2 separate regions of the Homo sapiens genome follow, and region 1 is linked to region 2. Evidence: promoter capture Hi-C in 16 types of primary human blood cells and fetal thymus (Javierre and others, 2016). All regions are on one chromosome and are shown on one strand. The core of a region is centred on a gene start or on the middle of the fragment in contact, and the rest is flanking DNA. Distances in the headings are between cores, read along the strand shown.

Evidence for each region. The method cuts DNA at HindIII sites, captures the fragments that hold promoters and counts their contacts. A CHiCAGO score of 5 or more calls a contact.
Region 1: a fragment that was not itself captured here is called in contact with the fragment with the promoter of FTMT in region 2 in 1 of 17 cell types (erythroblasts); the score reaches 6.3 in erythroblasts.

The regions. Positions count from the first base shown.
Region 1 is chr5:120,781,650-120,785,548 of GRCh38, forward strand. It overlaps a transcript of PRR16 not described here. Among named protein-coding and RNA genes, the nearest start is that of PRR16, 320 kb to the left of the region's middle. The HindIII fragment of the contact is 3,521 bases long and covers 1-3,503 here.
Region 2 is chr5:121,849,882-121,853,562 of GRCh38, forward strand. It overlaps FTMT (ferritin mitochondrial), which reads left to right and starts at 2,001. Exons shown (of 1, transcript NM_177478.2): 1 at 2,001-2,952. The coding sequence starts at 2,083. The coding sequence ends at 2,811. All of the region lies in intron 3 of LOC105379149 (a long non-coding RNA gene), which reads left to right. The HindIII fragment of the contact is 4,461 bases long and covers 1-3,457 here.

The DNA.
Region 1 (3,899 bases), core at 493-2,992, 1.1 Mb before region 2:
TGACAAGGAGCCATATTTTGGAGTACCATGTTCTCAACCCCGTCAATATACATATGTGAAAAAAGAGATACAGTTTCAGATAGTAATAAAAGCAGTTTTTTTCTTGTGCGAATACTGATGTTTCATGGACAACAGAGCTTCTATATCTTCATTAATATCTATAGCTTATTTTCTTAGGGAATTTCACCAAATTCATTTTTCAAGTATTTGAATATTGTAGATAGACCTTACAAATTATGTCCTTATTTTAAAGGGAAAAGGTTGCAAGAATTGATAAAAATTCTATTTTTCTAGGTAAAATTGTAAAAACTTTAACAAGTGGGTATTTGTAATTTACTAATAAAAACAGTGATTTGCATATAAATAGTTCAAGGCATTCTTTCTACTATTGTTCATATTACTACTTTTCTTTCATGCACATTGTTCTTCTGTAGTGACTCTTGAATGAAAAAACACCCACAATAAACCATAATACCAATCTAAACTGAGTGTGTGGTTGGTGTTATTTTGGACTTTAATGTAAAAGTTTGGAGTGGGACAGATTAAACCATCAATTTGCAACAGACTTGCAGGATTAGCTTCATTAAGTGTGTGACCAGTTGACCAGTGCATTTGCACAGGCCCCTGTGCTCAGTGTTCAGAAGTACCCCCCTCCAAAACCACAATCCCTCCATACATGCAGCCCACCCTCATAACTGCACCCCATGGCACTTGGGGTTTTATTAAGGTCTACAGTCACCATCTTGATGATTTTAATTGTTTTATCTTTCAAATTGTGTTTTAAAAGTGAAGCCTGATGGGACAGTGACACGTGACTAGGATCTCAGCGCTTCCCCTCGGGGTTGGTTCCACATTTCCCTGGATAAGTTCCTGGCTACCTATTTTCCCTCCCATATGCTGCTTCCCTCTATCTCAGTGGGGACCAAAGCACTGCAGTCATAAGTTACAAGGTAGGGCTCCAGGGATTGTGAAGGTCTGTGTTCACTCTGTAAGCATCCCTGTGTCCAGTGGAACAGGCATTAAGTGGTACATCTAGAGAGACTGGATGAGAAAGAAAGAGCTTTTATCCTGCTTTTTCAAACAAACAGAGCCCTGAATTTTATTTTTCTTTGGGCCCTGCAAATTTTGTGGCTGGTCCTGGTAATTTGGAACTAATGTTAATGTATATAACTGTCTGAACCCACCAGTTCAGATGAGAAGGGCAATTCTGAAGTGCATTATTTTTCAGGGTATCAGGTGCTTACTTTAGAAAATGACCATCTAATCTTAAAGATTTAAATTGTCATCTCTCTAAGTTGTTGCTTGTCAGGCAGATGCACACTTACTAAATATCCTCAATATAAGAAGAACTTACTCAAAGTTCATGCAGTATGTCTTGCTGGTGGATGTACAGATTCCTTAGGCAGTGCTCGCACTGCTCTCAGACTCAGGAAAACAGGTGCAGCCATCAGAATCACAATTGCATTTTAGAAAATGTCATATATAATTCATAAGAAAGAATTATTTGTGTTAACTTAGAACCAATGATAGAATTAGTAATATCATTTTCTTCACATTACAATAATCATTTTCAATGTGATTTACTCAGTATTCATAGTTTGCGAAGCATGAAATGAAACGTTTTTTCTAAAGCAGCTATTTAATCAGACTTAAAGATTACAATGAAGTGCACCCATAAATGACTTTTTCTAATTCAATCATAGGTATTTAATTCTATATATATCCACATAATAGCCAAAACAAACTTCTCAAAACTTAGAACTGATACATGGGCAGAAAGTAGAACGTACTAGATAGGTAGAATGGCATCATGTTTTAAAAACTGCATTGAGATCATTTTCTCTGTCTACCTAGGATGCTTCCCTCAACTTTCTTTTTTCAAACTGGTAATATGCTGCCTATCTATCTTTTAAAAAAATTTAAATTGTTTTAATTTTTATGAGTACATAATAGTTGTATGTATTTAAGGGGTATGTGAAATATTTTGATAGAAGTGTACAATGTATTATGCTCAAATTAGGGTATCTGGACACCCATCACCTAAAACATTTATCATGTTTTTGTGTTGGGAACATTCCAAACCCACTCTAGTTATTTGGAAATATACAATAATTTATTGTTAACTATAGTCACTCTACTGTGCTACCAAACACTAGATCTTATTCTTACAATCTAACTGAATTTTTGTACCCATTTACCAACCCCTTTTTCCCCCCATTCCCACTACCCATACCAGCCTCTGGTAATCATCATTCTACTTTCCACCTTCATAAGATAATTTTTTAAGCTCCCACCTATGAACGAGAACATGTGTATTTGTCTTGCTGTGGCTGGCTTATTTCACTTGACATAATGTCCTCCAGTTCCAACCATGTAATTACAAAGGATATCTTTCTACTTTATGGCTGAATAATATTTCATTGTATATATGTTCTACTTTTTCTTATCCATTCATTGGTTGATGGACATTTATATTTATTTCATATCTTGGCTATTGTGAGTAGTGCTGCAATAAACATGGGAGTGCAGATATCTCTTAATATACTGAATTTCTTTCTTTTGGAGCTATATACACAGCAGTGGAATTGCTGGATCATGTGGTAGTTCTACTGTTAGTTTTTTGAGGATTCTTCATACTATTTTTCATAATGGCTATACCAATTTACATTCCTACCAACAGTGTACGAGCTTTACTTTATCTACATCTTTGCTAGCATTTATTATTTTCTCTATTTCATAAAAACCATTTTTAACTGGAGTGAAATGATATCTCATTGTGGTTTTAATTTGCATTTCTCTGATGATTATATATGTTGAGCATATTTTGTATATGCCTGTTGGCAAAGAGACAACCTATAGAATGGGAGAAAATATTTGCAAACTATTCAACTCACAATAATCTATAAGGAACTCAATAACCAGAATATGTAAGAAACTCAAAAAACTCAATAGCAAAAAAATCTGAATAAAAATGGGCAAGAGATCGGAGTAGACATTTCTCAAAGACGAAATACCTGTCTTAAGAGCTAGATTAAATATAATTTTTATCCATGAAAGCTCTTTGAAACTTTTTTCCCAGGTCTCAAGGAAACTTTTGCTCAACTCTCTATTATAGCACGTTTTACATTTTTTGCTAATTCTTCCTAGAAGAATGACATTGAACATCTTATTCAAAATTCTCTCTTCTCTTAGAATCACAAAACCATGGGCTCATTATGACCAGGACAGGAATATCCATGGCACCATCCTAATGGTTCTCAGGTGTTAGGTGTATCTTTAAACTATGTAACTAGTTGCAGGTGCTACACAGGCTACTCCACACCTAGCCTGACCACCCGCTGCTATTAGATGAAACCAGTAACATTTTGATAAGTGCAAATAAAAGGAATCTCTCCCTGTGTATAACATCCAGTAGTTGTAGGCTCAACTGAACAATCTCACATGACTACAGTAGGCCACACTTGCTAATGGCTTCATTAGAATAATACAAATATCATAAACAAAGCTTGCCAGTAAGGCAGTATTGGTTATTTTTTTTCCATGAGAGTTTTGACAAGTGTCTAGGGCTACAACCTTTTTCTAACTCTGCAAAGTGACAAGTATGAAAGATGGAGACCATACGTGGGTATGAGAGTTATCCTGGCTGACACTTAGGTCCCAAATAGGAATCAGTATCTATTATAACAGCCCATAAGCAAAGAACATGACCAATTACAAGAATGCCCAGCATCAAGAAAGCTCATCTCATCATGACGCCTTATTTCAGTGGGAAAGCTTTGACTGCCTTTCATTTTCTTTTGTTGGTATTGATTAAATGTTTCCTAAGGCAAAGTTAGTAATTTATATTTTTCTATCAGATTAATTATTTGATTTACTTGTACACATAGAAGTCTCTGTGT
Region 2 (3,681 bases), core at 751-3,250:
GAGCTGACCAAGGAGATAAGGGAAAGTAATATAGACACAGTAATATACAGATAACATAAAGAAGACCTAAACAGAAGCAGTGCTAATATCAAAGACAGATAATAACCATAAGAATCAAACAACCATAACAAAAACAAATAGCTCAATATATGAATGGACAAAGATTTGAATATACACTTCACCAAGAATATGTGGTTGACAGAAGGCAGGTGCAAACATACTTCAATGCAAATTAAAAACACATTGAAACACCAGCACACAGTCATTAGAAATTTTTAAATTTTAATTAAAATTAAATGACTGACAATACCATGTGTAAGCATAAAATGTGAAGGAACTTGAACTCTTAACACTCTGCTGATGGGAATGTAAAATGCCATAATCACCTTGGAAAACAGTTTGGAAATTTCTTTAAAAAGTAAACATATACCTATCATGTAATCCGGCTTTTCCTACAAGGTATTTTATCAAGAGAAATGAGAGCATCTGACCACAGAAAGACTTGTACAGGAATGTCTATAACGACTTCATTTTAATAGCCAAAAACTATAACAACAAAAATGTCCATCATCAGATGAAAGGATAAACGAATTGTGGTATATCCATACAATGGAATACTACTCAGCAATAAAAGGAACTACTGAAACAAGATACAGTGTGGATGGAACCTAAAATAATTACACTGACTAAAAGAAAGCAAGTAAAAAGGAGCACATACTGTTGACTCTATTCACATGAACTATCCGCAACTGCAGTTTATTGTATGTCAATTATATATCTCTATATAAAGCTGTTTTATATGTCTGTATTCGCTTTTGTGGGTCTGTAATACACGTTTTTCATTTTTTTAAACCTCTGAGCATTACCATCAACATTTTAACAATAGTAATCTCGGCAGAAGACGAATTAGGGTTGTTTTGAACTTTCTTCTGCGTGCTTACCCTTTTTTCTTCAGTACCCTGCAACAATTACATAAATACTATTTTAACACTAAATGCTATTTAAAGTTTAATTTTTAAAGAGCTATTTTAAGAGGATATAATCTCTGCACTAAGAAAAGATGGGAAAGTAACATATTTTGAGTTCAGAGGCATTTTATTCCTCCTAGGGTTTCTACGGTATCTCATTTCTCATTCTTTCTTTCTTTTTTCTTTTTTTTTTTTTTTTTGAGACGGAGTCTTGCTCTGTCGCCCAGGCTGGAGTGCAGTGGCTCGATCTCGGCTCACTGCAAGCTCCGCCCCCCGGGTTCACGCCATTCTCCTGCCTCAGCCTTCCAAGTAGCTGGGACTACAGCAGCCTGCCACCACGCCCGGCTAATTTTTTGTGTTTTTAGTAGAGACGGGGTTTCACCGTGTTAGCCAGGATAGTCTCGATCTCCTAACCTTGTGATCCGCCCGCCTCGGCCTCCCAAAGGCGTGAGCCACGGCACCCGGCCTACAGTATCTCATTTCTTTACAATGAAGATACATTTTATGTTTAAAAATAAACTATGCATGTATTTTAAAAGAAACAGAGTCTTAAAAATTTTCCCACTATGCTGGCAATTGTTTCCACACTTACATGTTAAATAACCAGTTAATTTATGTACACTTGCTTTGGATGTGGACCTTTATTCTCACAGGTAAATTGGTGACTTTTGGTTCACCCTTTTCACTGTGTTGCCAGTCCAACTCTTGGTCCTTATGAAAAGGTCAGAGAAGAAGGGGGAGTACAGCTTGGTCCCTTCTTTGGGAAGTCCCAGGGCCTACTCTCCTGACAGCCTTTTTAACGCAGGTGAAATCAGTGACAATCGCCAAAGAGCAGAAATCTCACGTCGTCGGTGGGGGCGAATGCTCACGGAATCGTGACTGGGCATCTGCGCTGGCCTCCGCCTAGACTGCGCCCCACGCGGGTCCCCAGAGCCCCCGGCGGCGCTTCCCCAGCGCCCTCCGCGTGGAACCCCGCGCCTCTGGAACAGAAGGGGCGTGTGACGCAGTCACCGTTGCCTAGGGCCACGTTCTGATCAGATCTGACGCCTCCAGCGCCCGACCCCACGCCAAGAGGGCCGGGCCTCAGTTTCCCCACTTCCAAGGAGGCGGCGCTATGCTGTCCTGCTTCAGGCTCCTCTCCAGGCACATCAGCCCTTCGCTGGCGTCTCTGCGCCCGGTGCGCTGCTGCTTCGCGCTCCCGCTGCGTTGGGCCCCGGGGCGCCCCTTGGACCCCAGGCAGATCGCCCCCCGCCGCCCCCTGGCCGCAGCCGCCTCCTCCCGGGACCCTACCGGGCCCGCCGCCGGCCCCTCTCGGGTGCGCCAGAACTTCCACCCCGACTCCGAGGCTGCCATCAACCGCCAGATCAACCTCGAGCTCTATGCGTCCTACGTGTACTTGTCCATGGCCTATTACTTCTCCCGGGATGACGTGGCCTTGAACAACTTCTCCAGGTATTTCCTTCACCAGTCCCGGGAGGAGACCGAGCACGCGGAGAAGCTGATGAGGCTGCAGAACCAGCGAGGAGGCCGGATCCGCCTGCAGGACATCAAGAAGCCGGAACAGGACGACTGGGAAAGCGGGCTGCATGCCATGGAGTGTGCTCTACTCTTGGAAAAGAACGTGAACCAGTCGTTGCTGGAATTGCACGCTCTAGCCTCAGATAAAGGTGACCCCCATTTGTGCGATTTCCTGGAAACCTACTACCTGAATGAGCAGGTGAAGTCTATCAAAGAACTAGGTGACCACGTGCACAACTTAGTGAAGATGGGGGCCCCGGATGCTGGCCTGGCGGAGTACCTTTTTGACACACATACCCTTGGAAATGAAAACAAGCAGAACTAAGCCACGAGCTGCCTTCCTCCCAGGCTAGTGGATCCAAAGACCAAAGTCAGCTGTCTCCTGCTTTCTTGCCCTTAAAATCACCTCCATCTTTATATTCTTCTGTTATACTATTCCTCCAATAAAGTGATTTGTAGAAAAAAATGTTTTGCCCATGTTTAACAAGGGCTTTTTACTAACCATCAAGGCAGTTATTTTCCCAGGCTCGAAGATAGCACAGGTAACTATGGTATAGAAAAAGACTCCAAAAAGCTACTGAAAGAGGGTGCAAACTAACGTTCTCCAGTTGCCAAGTATTATCAGAATATGAACCTACACTTAAATTCTGTGATTTTTAATTCAACAAGTGCCTGCCATATTCAATACCTTATGCAAAACGCTAAAGTGGGAAAATGGATAAAAATATACAAATAACTATAAGTGAAGAATATTTAGTACTGTGAAAATTATACATGCAAAAATGCTATGACAGCTTTTGCCTTTTCCCAGTGTGTCCCAAGAAGCAGTACTGTCTGGAGATCGTTTTTTAAAAGAATTCGTAGTCAAATTTGGGATAAGCTACATGAATTATCAGTGTTAGTCTTGGAAAATCACAGCATATATTAACATTTTAAGGGCTCTGGGAAGTTTTGCAGTTAATAAATATAAAAGCTTTAATTATTTTTGTTTAGCTCAGTGTTTTCCAAACATATGCAATCTCAGTGTTTTGTTGTTTTAATGTTGGTAATATAACAAACCAGACCTGATTCCACACTCTATATACTTCACCATTGAGTCTCTCTTTTAACCTGCCAAGAAGAGTGAAAACACTGCATAAAACACCTTTCTGTGGTCTTTAAAATGGACAGAAAAGAACATGGGGGTTTAAAAAGT